6 separate regions of the Homo sapiens genome follow, and regions 2, 3, 4, 5 and 6 are each linked to region 1. Evidence: promoter capture Hi-C in human tissues and cell types (Jung and others, 2019). All regions are on one chromosome and are shown on one strand. The core of a region is centred on a gene start or on the middle of the fragment in contact, and the rest is flanking DNA. Distances in the headings are between cores, read along the strand shown.

Region 1 (2,828 bases), core at 164-2,663:
TATTTCTAGCAGAGACGGGGTTTCTCCATGTTGGCCAGGCTGGTCCCCAACTCCTGACCTCAAGTAATCTGCTCCCCTCGGCCTGTCACAGTGCTGGGATGACAGGCTTGAGCCACCGCGCCCGGCCTGGAAATATTTTATCTTCCAACTTCTACTAATTAAATGTACGTTTCACTTCCTAAAAACTGCTGACTCGAAAAAAGGAAAATCTTTTCACAGTGACAAACCCAGGGAGGGGTCAAGTCTGGCCAGGCTACCACGACGGACGCCCTCCCACCCCCAACTCAGGTGTTGCCTCAGCAAGGAATCCCATTGCTAGTACTCAAAACAGAACTGAGAAACGTCTTCAAATCCACACTTTCTAGGGAACCGTGAAAGAATATATTTCCGTGGTTTTAGCCCCCTCGTTTGCAGTCAGTTGCTACAGCAGTCCGAGGACACTAATGCACCAGCCTCCCGGGCGTCCCCGCTGTGGGTCTGCGTGCGTTTGCTTTTGGGGTCCTCGCTCTCCCTTGTTTCTCTAGTCTTTTCAGTTACTTTTCTTCCTTGTGTGTGAGAGCCCAGGGACCAGGAACCCTTGTTTTTTTTCCCCTTACCTACCCCAGGCATCTTGGGGTCAGAGGGGACAAGAAGTCCTCAAGAAGGAAAACCGGGACTCAGGGGAGGAAACCTCGCACGCCCCAGGGGCTGCCTTTGCAGGTGGGGGCGTCTCCGCCCCCGCCGAGGCCCCACCGCTCCCGGGCTGTCCCGGGAGGAACCCAGGGTCCCCCAGAGACCGCGGCCGGAGGCGCGGGGCCTCCAAGGAGCTGAGCCGCGGGAGCGCGAGCGGAGGCGGCACCGACCAGGGACCCGCACCCCAGGAGGCACCGCGGCGTCGGCCCCAGGGCGGGTCCCGGGGGAGCCTGGACCGCACCTCGGGGTCTCGGGCGACTCTGCCTCCCGCGGCCCGGGGGTCCCGAAGCCGCAGCGAAACGCTCCGAGGCGTCGCGGCCCCGGGCGGGGCGTGGGGGGTCGGGAGCGCAGGGACGCGGGGACCCCGGGACGACGGGGACGGAGTCGGGCTCCGGGCGCCGCTCCCCGCTCTGCAGCCTTGGGGCCAGAGGCGGGCGGGGACCCGGAGCTCGGAGCGCCCTAGCCGCGACCTCAGCGCGGGAGGCGGGGCCGGGCGGGACCCCCGGGGCCCAGGCTCCCGTCCTGCGCCGCCCTCGCCGGGGCCGCCCCCCGCGTCCCTCAGCTCCCCCCAAGCCGCGGTCTCGGGCGGTCGCCGGTTCCTGCTGCCCCGCACCGGGATCCTCTCCTGCGCCACACTCACCATGTCCCGGGGCGATTTCTTCGCTACCGGCGCAGGTGAGCGCGACAGGAACCGGGACGCCAGGGACCGCTAGGGGCAGGCGGGGCACTCACGGCTAGGACAGAGGCGTCCCGTCCCAGGGGCCTGATTAGACAGAGCTCGGGAAGCCGCGCTTCTGATTGGACAGTGCTGCCAACGTCGGCGACTCTGATTGGAGAATTCCCCAGTCCGTCCCCTGGCGCTGTAAATTGGGCAGTTCCCCGGATTCCGATTGGGCGTCCCTCATTGGATACTTGTCTCGGCCCCGCCCCCGCCCGTCCTGACTGGGTAGTTCCCTAGGGCCCACCCCCTGCCGGTGAGTGACGGGAGCGTTGCGAACACGCGTGGCTGTCCCGCCCTGCGGGGACACTGGCTTCTGGGCGAACTGGTTTCAGCCCGGGGCGGAATCGCCCTCTCCCCGCAGTTCGGGCGCCCCGCCCGCGTCCTCCTCCGGGACGGGCGTGGGAACTCCAGACTAGTTTCCTCACGAGGCGACCCCTTGTCCGGACAGGAGGTGGATGCAAGCGGGCGGCCCGGGCCTGGCAGGGCGAACGGGGGCTGGGCGCCGGGTCCGAAGGGCCGAGACCTACGTGGGGGCGGGACCCGCAGACGTGACGTCATCGCGCTGCGGGCGACATGGAGACCCCGCCCAGGGGGCTGCGAATCCGGAGACCCGGTCTGGGGGAGGCCGAACCCAAAGCCTGGCAGGGGGCAGGAGCTTTGCTCAAATCAACCAGAAGATATGAGATGTTCATTAAAACCCTCACATTTGGCTGGGCGCAGTGGCTCACGCCTGTAATCCCAGCACTTTGGGAGACCGAGGTGGACGGATCATCTGAGTTCAGGAGTTTGAGACCATCGTGGCCAATATGGTGAAACCCTTTCTCTACTAAAAATACAGAAATCAGCCCGGCGTGGTGCCGGGCGCCTGTAATCTCAGCTACTGGGGATGCTGGGGCAGGAGAATTGCTTGAACCCGAGAGGTGGAGGTTGTAGTGACCCGAGATCGCCCCACTGCAGTCTAGCCTGGGCGACAGAGTGAGACTCCATATTAAAAAACAAAAAAACTCTCAAGTTCATATTTTAAACTCTAAGGAAAATGTTTTCAGATCATTTTTTTAAGTACATCCCCCCAAAATTTGGAAGATTGAAAAGCTGGCCGGGCGCTGTGGCTCACGCCTGTAATCCCAGCACTTTGGGAGGCCGAGGCGGGCGGATCACCTGAGGTCAGGAGTTCAAGACCAGCCTGCCCAACATGGCAAAACCCTGTCTCTACTAAAAATACAAAATTAGCCGGGCGTGGTGGCGCGCACCTGTAATCCCAGCTAGGGAGGCTGAGGCAAGAGAATCGCTTGAGGCCGGGCACGGTGGCTCACGCCTGTAATCCCAGCACTTTGGGAGGCCGAGGCGGGCGGATCACGAGGTCAGGAGATCGAGACCATCCTGGCTAACACGGTGAAACCCCGTCTCTACTAAAAAATACAAAAAAATTAGCCAG
Region 2 (2,828 bases), core at 329-2,828, 410 kb after region 1:
CTTGGTGATCTTGTCCTATGGGGAGTCTGCAGTGGTCTCAGCCACATCCTATGTATTTTGGCTCTGGAGGAGCAAAGCTGTATCCTGGAGTTGGTCTGTGATTTGCCGACAGCCTTGCAGGCTGGGCTCAGGGACAAAGTCCCCCCCAAAACCCGCAGGTCCTCATGTCCAGACGCTGCCCAGTCCTGTCCTGAAAACAGCACGCCCCAGGCCCACAGAACCCCCCACCCTACATTTGCCTTGGGTGGAGCTGGGGGTGGTCCTAGGACTGCGGGTGCCCTTAGCTGAAGGGGGTGGGGAGAAGCGTGGACTGGGCAGCCTGTGGGTAATTGGAGGTTCATTGAGAATTGAGTCTTTGGAAACACTAAGAAAATCAAATTTTTAAAAGTTATTTATGGCCTGGGAAACAATTTGCATTTGTCCCCAAATACGCTTAGCTGTGTGCCGCTTAGAACGATGCGAAACCATCCCTCTGTGTAAGCCCGTGCCGTGTGACTCGAAGCCTAGCGCCCTCCCTGCGAAGCATCAGACGCCACCCAGCCCTGGGGGGAGGCCCACGCCTGCTGGACCAACGCGGGTTCTGGGGTGCACAGCGCCAGGTTAACGCTGAAGCCTGCCCCGCTGAGCCCAGGAGCCGGGAGGCCTGCGGGCTGACCCAGAATCCGATCATGCACCTGTCCTCATGCCAGCGGCTTTGGCTGGGGTTGGTCTGAAGCCTGCACGCGGCAGTTCTTTGTTAAAGATCTGAGGGACTCCTCAGTCCTGGGGCGTCGCCGCCTGCAGCCTCTTCCAAGCCCTGCGTCCAGCGAGCGTCACAGCACAACCTGCAAAAACGGAGCTGGGCTGCAGCTGGGGCTGGCATGGACTTTCATTTCAGAGATTCGGTTTTTAAGAAGATGCATGCCTAATGTGTTCTTTTTTTTTTCCAATGATTTGTAATATACATTTTATGACTGGAAACTTTTTTGTACAACACTCCAATAAACATTTTGATTTTAGGTTCTGCCTCTGAGTTTATTCCTGAGGGGAAGCTCGAGCCGGGGCCTCTGCCCTAATGAAGCGGATGTCTAAGAAAGATCCCTCCACCCCCAAGGAAAAAGGTCACTGGCTAGTGTAGCTAGTGTAAACAGGACCCAGGCGATGCATGGGACCCTGCCCTTTTTTTTCTAGTGAGCCTCCGACGCTGTTGCACAAGCTGACTCTTCGTCACGTGATGCGACCGGGCTCCGCCCCGGCGGCAACACGCTGTATAGACGCGCCGGGTGCCTCGTGCGCATGCGCGGCAGGCCCTTCGGGACGAGCTGGAGGCAGAGCGTGAGTACAAAGTGATCGGCCTCGGCCGCACGTAGTAGCCCCCCTACTCCCCGGCCAAGTCAGGGCCTCCCTCTTCCCGCGGAGTCGCAACCACGGGTAGCTCGTGTAGGTAACGGCAGGTCCAGGCCTCCGCATGAGCGGAGGGCCCCCCGCGCGACCTTGAATGGCCCGGGCGCGCGCGGTCGTGTGGGAGTTGTAGTCCTCCGTCCCCGTCCGCGCGGACTCCGTTTCCCGTGGTGCCCCGGGCGGCCCGCTTCCGGCGCAGTTAGTTACGAGTCGGCGCACGCGGCCTCGGTCCGGTTGACTTTGCGGAGCCATGGAGGGCGGCTTCGGCTCCGATTTCGGGGGCTCCGGCAGCGGGAAGCTGGACCCAGGGCTCATAATGGAGCAGGTGAAAGTGCAGATCGCCGTGGCCAACGCGCAGGAGCTGCTGCAGGTGCGGGGCTGGCCGGGGACGGGCGCTGGGGGCGACAGGGCCACCCCTGGGGGCCGACGTCGCGGCTAAAGCCTCGCGTGTCTCCACAGAGGATGACGGACAAGTGTTTCCGGAAGTGTATAGGGAAACCTGGGGGCTCCCTGGACAACTCCGAGCAGGTGAGACCCGCGGAGGTTCGGGGCAAGGGTCGCGAGGGCCTAGATTCGAGGGGGGAGGTGTCTGCGCGTGCGCAGACTAACGGGGAGGTGCGACGGAGTGGTCACTGCACGTGCGTAGTCTGCAGCCCGGGCGTCCTGGAGCCGGGGTCAGGGCGGTCCCCGGGGCCGCGAAGTCCCGAGCTGAGCCGTGCGCCCCTCCGCTCCCGCAGAAGTGCATCGCCATGTGCATGGACCGCTACATGGACGCCTGGAACACCGTGTCTCGCGCCTACAACTCGCGGCTGCAGCGGGAACGAGCCAACATGTGACCGGCGAGCGCGGGCCACCCCACCCTGTTCATTTCCATAAACGTGCTTTGAGAGGCGGGGTCCGCATGTACGTACTGCCTGCCCGGGGCTTAGGAGGGTGGCACCGGTGCTGGGACACACGGGACTGTGTCCTCGCCACCCCCCGCCCTGCCCCCTGCCAGCCAGTGCAGCTTGGATCTCGGGGGTGTGGGGCCCTGTGCCTTCCTGAAGTGCTGGCAGCCCAGTGGCACCTCCTTCAGGCCTTTGGGGTATTCCCCTAGTGTGCCCAAGTCAGCCTCATATTCTGGGCGGACAGCTTGTCTGGACTTCGGAGTTGGGGGTGGTCAGACACCACAGGAGCTGTCACCTCCTGCGGATGGGCAAATAAATTGGTGGAGGACGGAGAGAAACCTCTTTATTTCCCTCCTGAGGGGTCTCTGGGAAGAGGTGACGCGTGTCCCTGGAACCCCAGCTCGGAGGGTCTCAGCCTCCCCTGGGTTGGGAGAAGTCCATCTTTCCCCTTAGTGCCACCGGGCTGCTGAGTCACGAGGAATGTGTTGCTGCTGCCACCCCTGCCCCAAAGGCTAAGGGGGACAGCCTTCCCCTTGTCAGGGCTTGCTTTGACCCTGCTTC
Region 3 (2,828 bases), core at 138-2,637, 380 kb before region 1:
ATTCAGACGCTGGGCCCATGATGGGAACCAAGGGCTGGGGATACAATTGCCGGACACCCCCACCCGGGATGCCATCGGAGGGAGAATCCAGTGGGAGGGAGGCAGACAGGCCTGAGGCCGCCCACGCCTCCCTCCTCCTCCCTGTCCACCCCAGAATTTGGGCTCTGCCCAGATGGACACGTCCAAGCTCATTGTCTTGGGCCTGAGACCCCAACACATTGCTAAGAGGCTCGGCCAGTTTCAACTTGAGCCCAAGGTGGAGGCGGGGGAGGGGGAGGGCAGAGAAATGGAGGAGAGAATGCTGATCCACGCGGAGGTGGTGGGGCCAGGGGGTGGGCAGCGACGGGAGCCTCTCCGCCACCCGAGGCAGGCGAGGCGGGCGCGTCCCCCCGAGCCGGGCGCCCCCAACCCGTCTTCCTTTGTAGTTACCGATTAGCCTGGGGTCCTGGGCATCCGTGTCCCCCGCGGCCGGACCTGCCCCGCCGGCCTGGCTTTGTGAAAATAACCAAAGCAATGGAGTCCGCAGGTGCAAACTTCCCCGACGGGGCCTGGGGAGGCTGAATGAATGGGGGTGGGGGGGCAGGGAGGGGTGCCGGCGTTCCCGAGGCTCCCCTGGCAAACGGGCAGGAAAGAGTGGGGTGAGGGAGGGAGGAAGGGGTGGGGGTCTGGGGGATGGAAGGGTGAGGGAGGGAGGGAGGGAGAGAGAGGGTGCTGTGGGGGGAAGGATGAGAGGTCGAGGGAGATGGGAGAGAAGAGAAAGGGAGAGAGAGAGGGAGAGAGAGAGGGAGAGAGAGAGGAGATGCCGGAAGGTGGGGAGGGAGGGAGAGGGGGCGGAGGAGGGGAGGGGGCCCGCTCGGATCTGTCAGCTGCACCCCCAGAGAGGGGAGGAGGGGTGGGTGGGAGGGAGGGGGTAAGAACCGATGCTCCGGCAGAGGCAGGCAGAGGAGGGAGGTGAGCAGAGGAGGGATGGTGATGGGGGAGAGAAGATGCCGGAAGGTGGGGTGGGAGGCGGAGGGAGGGGGAGAGGGGGGAGGGGGCCGGGCGCCCACCTTTGTGCATCCCCGTGTAGGGGTCTTTGAGCACCGTGAGCTCGTAGATGCGGCCGAACTGCTCGAAGAGCGGCTTGAGGTCCTTCTCGTCCAGGTGCCGCGGGATCTGGCCCACGAAGAGTTTGATGGCGTCCAGGTCCTTCATGCCGTCGGGCTGCCCCCCGGGGGGCTCGGGCCCGCTGCTGCCCACGGGCGAGGGCCGCGGCTGCAGGAGCTGCTGCTGCTGCCGGCGCGCCTCGCTCTCCGTCAGGCGGGCCATGGCGGGCGCGGGACCGAGCCGGCGGCGGCGGCGGCGGGCGGCGGGCGGACTCGCAGCTGGAGCGGCGGCCGCGCCTCCCGCCTCCCTCCCGGGCCCCCGCGCCCTCCTCCCGCCCGCGCCCGCCCCGGCATCGGGACCACAAAGGCGGCTCCGCAGCGGCCCCTGGCGGCCGCGCCGCGCGGGGCAGCCGGCGCCTCCCCGCATCCCCGGGCCGCGGGGGGAAACTGAGGCCGGAAGGCCCCGGGCCCCGCCTACGGGTGGGCGAGGGCGGAGCTGCGGGCGGGACGGGCCTTAGCCGGCTTCCCAGGGGTCCCCGCCGGCTCCCGCGGAGGGCATCGGCCGGAAGAATGTCAAAAGTTGCTGGGATAATGTAGGGGGCTTGTCGTTGAAAGCGCCCGTGATCCTTAAAGTAGGTAACTCATCAATAATATTAATAACACTAATAATATGGCTGGGCGCGGTGGCTCACGCCTGTCATCTCAGCACTTTGGGAGGCCGAGGTGGGTGGATCACTTGAGGTCAGGAGTTCGAGACCAGACTGGCTAACACGGTGAAACCCCGTCTCTACTAAAGAATACAAAAATTAGCTGGGCTCGGTGGCGGGGGGTGCCTGTAATCCCAGCTACTCGGGAGGCTGAGGCAGGATAATCACTTGAACCCAGGAGGCGGAGGTTGCAGTGAGCCAAGATTGTGCCATTGTACTCCAGCCTGGGCAACAAGAGCAAAACTCCGTCTTGGTAAAAAAAAAAAAAAAAAACACCTAATAATAACAACACTAATAATAATTAATCAAGAGCAAGACAAAGTGCTCCCACTAATCACGACAGCACAGGAGAAATGGTAAAAGTATCTTCCAGTTCTATAGGGTGCTTACACATAGAAAGTGTCCTTGGCCCTTTAAGTATGTAACTCATCAATAATGTCATCAACAAGGAGGGAGACTGGCTCGCACTGATAATGACAGGATAGGAGAAATACTGAAGTATCTCCCAGCTCTAAAGTGCCCGTGATCCTTTACGTATGAAACTCATCAATAATATTAATAAAAATAATAATACGTGCTGGCCGTGGTGGCTCACACCTGTAATCCCAGCACTTTGAGAAGCAGAGTCAGGAGGACCACTTGAGCCCAGGAGTTGGAGACCAGCCTGAGCAACATAGTGAGACGCCATTGCTGTAAAAAATAAGAAAACAGGCCAGGCACGATGGCTCACACCTGTAATCCCAGCACTTTGGGAGGCTGAGGCAGGTGGATCACCTGAGATCAGGAGTTCGAGACCAGCCTGATCAACATGGAGAAAACTCTGTCTCTACTAAAAACACAAAAATTAGCCAGGCATGGTTGTGCATGCCTGTAATCCCAGCTACTCAGGAGGCTGAGGCAGGAAAATCGCTTGAACCCGGGAGGCGGAGATTGCAGTGAGCCGAGATTGCGCCATTGCACTCCAGCCTGGGCAACAAGAGTGAAACTCTGTTTGAGAAAAAAAAAAAAAAAAATCAGCCAGGAGTGGTTGGTGTGC
Region 4 (2,828 bases), core at 158-2,657, 380 kb after region 1:
TTTCGTATTTTTATTTTTACTTTTTTTGAGACAAACTCTCACTCTGTCACCCAGGCTGGAATGCAGTGATGTGATCAGGGCTCACTGCAACCTTGACCTCTCTTGCTCAAACAATCCTGCCACCTTAGCCTCCCAAATACCTAGGACTATAGGCGCCCAGCTAATTTTTTTTTTTTTTTTTTTTTGAGGTGGAGTCTTACTCTGTTGCCTAGGCTGGAGTGCAGTGGTTCAATCTTGGCTCCCTGCAACCTCCGCCTCCCGGGTTAAAGCAATTCTCCTGCCTCAGCTTCCCGAGTAGCTGAGACTACAGGCATGTGCCACCATGCCTGGCTAATTTTTGTATTTTTAGTAGAGACGGGATTTCACCATATTGGTCAGGCTGGTCTCGAACTCCTGACCTCATGATCTGCCCGGCTTGGCCTCCTAAAGTGCTGGGAATACAGGTGTGAGCCACTGCACCTGGCTAATTTTTTTATTTTTATTTTTAGAAATGGGGTCTTGCTATGTTGCCCAGGCCAGTCTCAAACTCCTGGGCTCAGGCTATCCTCCCACCTCCGCCTCCCAAAGTGCTGGCATTACAGGCGTGAGCAAACCACTGTACCTGGCCTGGCTTTTATTTTAATTCTTATTTCTCCTTTCTTCAGCCTTTTCTGCCTGTAATGCAGAATGCCCATCCTCTCTGCTCAGCTCATTGGAGTGCCTATTTAATAGATTGAATGCTATCCAATTCATGAATTGCTAATAAGAGCCAATGAGATCATTAAACTCAATTTGTTGAAATTCATACTCCTTGACAGCCTCTTCTGGACATTTTATATCAGTGGCATTGTACACTATATGGCTTTTTTTTTTTTTTTTTTTTTTTTTTGAGACAAAGTTTCTCATTGTTGCCCAGGCTGGAGTGCAGTGCCGCGATCTTGGCTTACTGCAACCTCCACGTCCCAAGTTCAAGAGATTCTCCTGCCTCAGCCTCCCAAGTAGCTGGGATTACCGGCGCGCGCCTCCGTAGTAGAGATGGTGTGGGGGGGTCTCCCTATGTGGTCCAGGCTGATCTCGAAATTCTTTTCTCAAGTGATCCACCGGCCTTGGCCTCCCAAAGTGCTGGGATTACAGGCGTGAGCCACCACGCCCGGCCCTATATGGCCTTTTGTGTCTGGTTCTTTGAACACGTTTTGAGGTTCTCTAAGTGGGGAAACAGGTACTAGAAAGCAACCCAACGCTGTTTCCTCGTGGCGGAGCTGGGAGTTTGCAGCCAGGAAGTCTGTCTCTGGAGTCAGCGCCTCTGCGAAGCGAGAGCTGGACGGAGACTTCAACTTCCGGCGTGCCCCGCGCGCGCCCGGCGGTCGGACTACCAGTCCCAGGCTGCCCCGCCGCGGCGGGCGGCGGGCGCGGCGCGGCGCGGCGCCATCTTGCAGCCGGCGGCGCGGATTGAATGAGCCCGCCGAGCCCGGGCCGCCGTCGGGAGCAGCGCAGGCCGCGAGCCGCCGCCACCATGGCCACGCCGCTGCCCGGCCGCGCGGGCGGGCCCGCCACGCCGCTGTCGCCCACGCGCCTGTCGCGGCTGCAGGAGAAGGAGGAGCTGCGCGAGCTCAACGACCGCCTGGCGCACTACATCGACCGCGTCCGCGCGCTGGAGCTGGAGAACGACCGGCTCCTGCTCAAGATCTCAGAGAAGGAGGAGGTGACCACGCGCGAGGTGGGCGCCGGGGCTTAGGGGCCGGGCGGGGGTGCAGCCGGCAGGCCCCGCCCACCGCGGGGCGCGCGATCGCGGGGACCCTGGGCGGGGGTGCAGACGGGGACGGGCCCCGGCTTCGGGGGTTTCCGCGGGGTTTCGGGGGGCCCCTGAGTGAGGGGTGCAGCTCGGCCAGGTCCCTCCCACCGCGGGGTGGGCAATCGCTGGGACCCTGGGTGCAGACAGGGACGGGCCCGGGTCTCGAGGGTCTCCAGGGGGTTTCGAGGGGCCCCTGAGTGAGCGGTGCAGTTCGGCCAGGCCCCGCCCACCGCGGGGTGCGTGATCGCGGGGACCCTGGGCGGGGGTGCAGACGGGGACAGGCTCCGGCTCGGGGGTCTCCAGGAGGTTTGGGGGCTTCTGAGTGAGGGGTGCTGCTCGGCTAGGCCCAGCCCACTGCGGGGCTCCCAGTCGCGGGGAACCCTGAGCTGGGATGCAGACGGGGACAGTCCGGCCTCGGGGATCTCCGCCGCGTTTCGGAGAGTCCCTGAGTGAAAGGTGCTACTCGGCCAGGCCCCGCCCACCACGGGGCGCGCGATCGCGGGGGACTCTGAACGACTCCCGGCTTGGGGTCTCCAGGGGGTTTGCGGGGGGCTCCTGGATGAAGGGTGCAGGTCCTGGCCACCGCGGGGTGCGCGATCGCGGGGACCCTGGGCAGGGGTGCAGACCGGGAAGGGTCCCGGCTTGGGGGTCTCCAGGGGGTTTCAAGGGGTCCCTGAGTGAGGGGTGCAGCTCGGCCAGGCCCAGCCCACCGCGGAGTACGCGATCACGGGGGACCCTGAGCAGGGGTGGGGTCAGCCTGGCCTCGGGGATCTCCAGGGGGAGACCCTGAGTGAGGGGTGCCACCTGGGCAGGCCCTGCCCACCGCAGTTTCCGAGATCTTGGGGGACCCCTTGGGAGGGGTGCAGACCGGAGTGGCCCATTCTCTTGGGGACCTCCAGGGGGTTTCTAGGGCACTGAGTGAAAAGTGCAGACCAGGAATGCCCCACCTATGGAGGGGGTCCCAGGAGATCTTCCGTGTCCTGAGTGAGGGCTGCAGAGGGGCCTCCAGCTAGCTCTGGGGACCCTTCCGTGAGAGGTGCATTTTGGGGCCATGGGG
Region 5 (2,828 bases), core at 1-2,500, 360 kb before region 1:
CAACCTGGCCAACACGGTGAAACCCCATCTCTACTAAAAATTAAAAAAAATTAGCCGGGCATGGTGGCGGGTGCCTGTAATCCCAGCTACTCAGGAGACCGAGGTCCGAGAATCACTTGAAGCCGGGAGATGGAGGCTGTAGTGAGACAAGATCACGCCACTGCACTCCAGCCTGGGTGACAGAGGAAGACTCCATCTCAAAGACAAATAAATAAAAACTTTAAAAAGTTTGTAGAGATGGGGTCTTGCTATGTTGCCCAGGTTGGTCTCCAACTCCTGGGTTCAAGCGATTCTTCCGTCCCGGCCTCCTAAGTAGCTGGGATTACAGGTGCCCACTGCCACATCCGCCTAATTTTTGTATTTTTAGTAGGGATGAGGTTTCACTATGTTGGCCAGTCTGGTCTTGAACTCCTGACCTCAAGTGATCCACCTGCCTCGGATTCCCAAAGTACTGGGATTGCAGGCACAGCCGCCGTGTCCGGCCCTCATCCCACCCTCTCTTTGTATTTGCTCCACCTGGCATCCCCCAGGGGTGAGGGGGTGGGAGATGCAGTAGGGGGAGGTCCCCCTCGGCCCCAGGCTGAACGGGGCCAGCGCGGAGCCCCAGCCTCACCGCTTGTCAGCCTTGACGTGGTGCTGCTTCACGTCCTTCAGGTAGCGGCTCAGGTGGTGCTCCAGCGTGCTGAGGAAGGTGCTGTCCTTGTCCACCAGCTGCGCGGCCCGCGGCTGGTTGGTGAGCCAGTCCATCACCGAGTCCAGCTGCTCCTGCTGGATCTGCTGTAGGGACGGTGGTGGTAGTCATGGCCTGGCCCCGCCCACCCACCCACCCACTGGCCTGGCCCCCTTACCATCTGCTCTGTGAACACCGGCATGTCTGGGGGTGTCCCCTGCGGAGAGAGGAGGGGATGGCCCTGAGTCCAGGCCCCTGCAGTGGGGCTGGGGCCAGGGGTGGGGCCGGGGCCGGGGGCAGGGCTGGGGCTGGGTCTGGCGGCACAGAGGGCTCAGGGCTCACCTTCTCTGTCAGGTTGTAGATGACTCGAGTCAGGGCCTCTGCAATGATCCTCGTGTTACGGGTCAGGGTCTTAGAATCCACCCGGGACCTTCACGATTCAAAAACAATGTTTTAAAATGTGGACTTTGGGCCAGGCAAGGTAGCTCTCACACTTGTAATCCCAGCACTCCAGCCTAGGAGACCGTGAGACTCTGTCTTTAAAAAAAAAAAAAAATTAAGCTTAGCTTTAACTACTTGGCTAACATGTAGATGCAGATTCACTGGGGGCCCCACACCTCCAGGCCCCTTGCCCTGACCCGTCCCTGTGCGCAGGTAAGGCTCACGCCCTGAGGCCTTGGTTCCTTCTGACTCGGTTTTCTGCTCTTCCAGAATTTAAACTGGACTATTCCGTCCTGGTGGAAGAATCCATTCTGGGACCCTCTGCAAATCCCAGGTGGCCCTCCTGGGCTGACCCCTGGTGGTCTTGAGAGAGCTCAGCACAGCTGGGACAGCCGTGCACCCACCCTCATTTCCTGGCAATCTTTCCTGGCTGGTGGGCGACCGCCACCTCCATCCTTTCCAGGACTGCGATTACCCAGGGATGTGCCCCTCCCTCCCGCCACTGGCTTCTGCAGGCCTCCGATGGCTGAGCTCAAACCACTCCTGAGGGCCCAGTGACCGCAGAGCAGAGTGGATGAACGGGAAGGATCTATGCCGGGACTGCGGGCGCTGGGGGAGGAGACGGCGCCCACCTGCTGGTGCCAGGACTGGCCAGGAGTGTGCCTGGGGTGGCCAGACAGTTCCAGGCTCCACAAAAGCCTGCCCAGGGGCTCACATGATGGCAGAGAGACGGGCAGGACACAGGGTCAGAGGACATAAGAAGCCAGAGACACAGTGCCCAGAGGGAGGCGGGGCGAGGAAGGGCCGGGGTGTGGTGGCGGGCCAGGCTCCCCAAGACGGTGGCCGGGGCCAGGCAGGACTTTCGGGCTGTGGCAGGGCCCTGAAGAGGCCCAGAGGCAGGAGCTGCTTGCTCCTAACTCAACAGGTGACGGGGTCTGGGGGTCCTATATGGGGCCACGACCTCAGGCTGCTGGCCTCGCCCTCCCTAGCCCCAGTAAGGAAGAGCTTGCGAACGGCCTGACCGTGCAGCCGGCCTTGGCCACGCACCGGCCCCTTCCTCGCAGCCTGTGTGTGGGGGCCGCTCCCTCCAGGCTCTCATGGCCTCTGCAGTTGCGACCAGTGGCTCAGCCCCCAGGAAAGCCCTAGGAGGGGCCGGGCAGGTGCTGCCGCGCTCACCGCACGTCCATGATGCTGCTGCGCTGGCCGTCACGGTGGCTCTCCAGGTGGGACAGCGTGAAGGCGGGCAGTCGGCGGATGGCGAAGCGCTCGTGCTCCCAGGCCAGCACGTCCTCCGCCAGGTTGATCCGCTTGTGCACCATGGAGAACCGTACCTCAGGGAACTGGTGCGCGGCCACCTGCAGCCGGAGGCGCCATTAGCAGAGGGCAGGCGGGGATGGCGGCCACCCCAGCCCATTCCCCAAATGCTCCAGGGGCCTCCCAGAACCCCCGAGGGTGCAAAATGAGGAGAAATCCACCTGCCCCCGGGGTCCCCCTAAGGCCTGCTGGAGCCCCGGCGGGCAATGAGCAGTGGGTAAGGAGGGACAAGGGGACACTCTGGGACAGGACACCCCAGCCCGGCCCTGACGCAGTGTGCCCCTCAGAGCCCCGGGGTTGGACAGCAAGGACACCCCAGGACAGAACACCCCAGCCCGACCCCGACACAGTGTGGCCCTCAGAGCCTGAGGGGCGGACAGCAAGGACACCCTGGGACAGGATG
Region 6 (2,828 bases), core at 216-2,715, 290 kb before region 1:
TTTGGTATTTTAGTAGAGACGGGGCTTCACCATGTTGGCCTGGCTGTGTCTTGAACTCCTGACCTCAAGTGATCCCACCCGCCTGGGCCTCCCAAAGTGCTGAAATCACAGGCTTGAGCCACTGCACCCAGCCAGAGTTCAGAATCTTGAACCGTTACTGACGTCGACTCCCCCATCTGAAGCCTCCGCATGGAAGCCATCACCCTGTTTTGTTTTCTCCTAGATAATTCTTGTTGCCAGAATTATTTTATCTGCTTATGAGTTTACAGACTAAATGTCTTGGCTCCTTCACAGGAAATGAGATCCAGGAAGACAGAAATATCTTCCCCTGTTTGGCTGCCTCGTTCCTGGGAGCTACCCAATAAATCTTAAATGAATGAATAATGAATGAATGAACCAATGAACCAATCAATCCATCCTTTCTAGCCCCCAAAGGAGCCCTAGACAAGCCCTCTCCAGCCATGGCAGGGAGGTAAAGGCGAGAGGGAGCGTCCTGGTGAAGGAGAGGCTGGAGCCGGCCCCTCCCTTACGGGTGGGCTGGCCAGAACGGGTTGCACACCTGAGCTCATCATTCCCTCGCCATGACACAGACAGGTAGGGCGTGCTGGGCCTGCCCGGCAGGGGCCCGGTAGAGCCACGTCTGCTATTGTATATGCCCCACACAGTGGACAGGCCTGGGCACCTGGCCGCTGGTCGCACGTTGGACAAGGAACTTGGCTTCTCTGAACCTCAGTCTTTCTCATCTGGAAAATGGGTTCCAGGCTCCCCATTCCCTGGGAGGAGGCGACGGCTCCACGATGCCAATGTCTGACCTAGCCTGATCCGCCTCCTTGCCCCGACACCCCTGCCGGCTGGCCACCGCCCACTGCCCACCACCCACCGCCCACCGACCCTGGACTCACCCAAAAGCAGCAGCTTCAGCTCCCCGCGGTCCTGCTTCTTCTGCTCCAAGAGGATCCTGTTGATCTCCTGGTCCACCCGGGCGGCGGCCTTCTCATCCTCCGTCAGGCACCAGGGGCAGCAGCGCCAGGTCAGCGAGCGGGCCATGGTGCGGTGGCCTCAGTCGGCACCGGGTGGCATCGCCCCCGGGCCCCTGCTGGCCAGGGCAACCCCCAGCCCAGCCGGCCCTGGAGAGGGCTCCGGGCAACCGGGTGCGCAGGGAGGCTGCCTTTTCCTTGGGGGTCACCCCCCAGGGACCTAGACTTCCTTGCCTGAAACACCCAGGAAGCCCGGCTCGGCGGTGGCAAGGCTTGAGTGCTGGGAACAGGGTGGGGACGGGAGGAGGTGGGGAGGCCAGGGCTCCCCGCCCACCTCCAGACCTGCTCAGACCCGGCCCGACAGGTTGACGGTGAAGGGTGCCAGGAGAGGGTGAGGTGGGGGCCCCAGGGAGGGCGGGGCGGTGGCGGGAAAACCCCCACCGCAGACTGGGTCCTGTGTGACCAGCAGGGCCCTTCTTCCTCCTTCTGGAGAAGGGGCGGATTCTCCTCAGGCTTCACCCGGAGCTGTCCCCCTCCTCGGAGCCAATCAGGAACCGTCAGACCCGTGCTACTGCTGATACATTATATATATATCATATATATATGTGTGTGTATATATATATATGTGTATATATATATATATATATATATATATATATATATATATATATATATATTTTTTTTTTTTTTTTTGAGACAGAGTTTCACTCTTATTGCCCAGGCTGGAGTGCAGTGGCAGGATCTTGACTCTGCAACATCTGCCTCCCAGGTTCAAGCAATTCTCCTGCCTCAGCCTCTCGAGTAGCTGGGATTACAGGCATCCACCACCACGCCGGGCTAACTTTGGATTTTTAGTAGAGAAAGGGTTCCACCACGTTGGCCAGGCTGGTCTCAAACTCCTGACCTCAGGTGATCCACCCGCCTCGGCCTCCCAAAGTGCTGGGATTGCAGGCATAAACCACCACGCTCGGCCCTTCTGATATATTTTTAAGAAACAGCTCAGGCCAGGTGTCATGGACTGTTTCCAGCGACTCTGCCCTGACCTCAGGTGATCCACCCTGCAGAGGTGGGCAGCTTGCCTGAGGTCAGGAGTTCGAAACCAGCCTGGCCAACATGGCGAAACCCTGTCTCTACTAAAGATACAAAAATTAGCCGGGTTTTGGCTCACATTAGCTGGTTTTACACTCACATCACCCTGTATAGTTACTACTGTCATCCCTGTTTGACTGATGAGGAGGTTGAGGCATAGAGCAGGGGAGTGACCGGTGGGGCTGGCACAAGGCAGAGCCGGGAGCCTATCCCTCACCTGCGGGGCCCCAGAGTCTAGACGCCTACCAGGCAGATTCCAGGCAGGGCCATCCCTTCATTGTGCGTGCATTCATGGAGCGCCAACTGTGTGCCAGGCACGGTAGCCAAGAGACACAGATCCCAGACCTCCTTACCTAAGGTTCTAGTTAAAGAACAGATAATAAAATAAATTTTAGGCTGGGCCTGGTGGCTCACGCATGTAATCCCTATACTTTGGGAGGCCAAGGCGGGCAGATCACAAAGTCAAGAAATCGAGACCAGCCTGGCCAACACGGCGAAACCCCGTCTCTACTAAAAATACAAAAATTAGCCGGGCGTGGTGGTGCACGCCTGTAGTCCCACCTACTTGGGAGGCTGAGGCAAGAGAATCGCTTGAACCCGGGAGGCAGAGGTGGCAGTGAGCTGAGATCGTGCCACTGCACTCCAGCCTGGCGACGAAGTGAGACTCCATCTCAAAAAAAATAAAAAATAAAAGAATAAAAAATTTGGCCAGGTGAGTGCGGGAGCTCACATCTGTAATCAAAGTACTTTGGGAGGCCGAGG

What was found. The method cuts DNA at HindIII sites, captures the fragments that hold promoters and counts their contacts. A contact is called where the count stands out against the background at its distance.
Region 2: a contact is called between the fragment with the promoter of TIMM13 here and the fragment with the promoter of ZNF555 in region 1, in 1 of the 25 tissues and cell types used here (liver).
Region 3: a contact is called between the fragment with the promoter of CELF5 here and the fragment with the promoter of ZNF555 in region 1, in 5 of the 25 tissues and cell types used here (adrenal gland, dorsolateral prefrontal cortex, mesenchymal stem cells and 2 more).
Region 4: a contact is called between the fragment with the promoter of LMNB2 here and the fragment with the promoter of ZNF555 in region 1, in 2 of the 25 tissues and cell types used here (dorsolateral prefrontal cortex and liver).
Region 5: a contact is called between a fragment that was not itself captured here and the fragment with the promoter of ZNF555 in region 1, in 2 of the 25 tissues and cell types used here (H1 embryonic stem cells and bladder).
Region 6: the fragment with the promoter of GNA15 here is called in contact with the fragment with the promoter of ZNF555 in region 1 in 2 of the 25 tissues and cell types used here (aorta and pancreas).

The regions. Positions count from the first base shown.
Region 1 is chr19:2,840,060-2,842,887 of GRCh38, reverse strand. ZNF555 (zinc finger protein 555) reads right to left here and starts at 1,413. Exons shown (of 4, transcript NM_152791.5): 1 at 1,313-1,413. The coding sequence starts at 1,315. RefSeq lists silencers at 1,033-1,082, 1,123-1,422, 1,643-1,832, 1,843-1,952. The HindIII fragment of the contact is 15,507 bases long and covers 1-2,828 here.
Region 2 is chr19:2,426,336-2,429,163 of GRCh38, reverse strand. It overlaps TIMM13 (translocase of inner mitochondrial membrane 13), which reads left to right and starts at 1,578. Exons shown (of 3, transcript NM_012458.4): 1 at 1,578-1,750; 2 at 1,840-1,908; 3 at 2,118-2,828. The coding sequence starts at 1,631. The coding sequence ends at 2,216. It overlaps LMNB2 (lamin B2), which reads left to right. Exons shown (of 12, transcript NM_032737.4): 12 at 1-998. RefSeq lists enhancers at 1,108-1,257, 1,342-2,087, 2,088-2,828 and a silencer at 1,808-1,897. The HindIII fragment of the contact is 21,330 bases long and covers 1-2,828 here.
Region 3 is chr19:3,223,220-3,226,047 of GRCh38, reverse strand. It overlaps CELF5 (CUGBP Elav-like family member 5), which reads right to left and starts at 1,387. Exons shown (of 13, transcript NM_021938.4): 1 at 1,050-1,387. The coding sequence starts at 1,308. RefSeq lists a silencer at 1,447-1,566. The HindIII fragment of the contact is 19,492 bases long and covers 1-2,828 here.
Region 4 is chr19:2,455,538-2,458,365 of GRCh38, reverse strand. LMNB2 (lamin B2) reads left to right here and starts at 1,407. Exons shown (of 12, transcript NM_032737.4): 1 at 1,407-1,696. The coding sequence starts at 1,433. RefSeq lists silencers at 1,309-1,488, 1,609-1,858, 1,919-2,008, 2,239-2,418 and an enhancer at 2,679-2,828. The HindIII fragment of the contact is 70,551 bases long and covers 1-2,828 here.
Region 5 is chr19:3,204,211-3,207,038 of GRCh38, reverse strand. NCLN (nicalin) reads right to left here. Exons shown (of 15, transcript NM_020170.4): 9 at 2,288-2,466; 10 at 1,013-1,100; 11 at 849-887; 12 at 614-777. Among named protein-coding and RNA genes, the nearest start is that of CELF5, 19 kb to the left of the region's middle. The HindIII fragment of the contact is 5,490 bases long and covers 1-2,828 here.
Region 6 is chr19:3,134,670-3,137,497 of GRCh38, reverse strand. It overlaps GNA15 (G protein subunit alpha 15), which reads right to left and starts at 1,465. Exons shown (of 7, transcript NM_002068.4): 1 at 903-1,465. The coding sequence starts at 1,047. The HindIII fragment of the contact is 27,733 bases long and covers 1-2,828 here.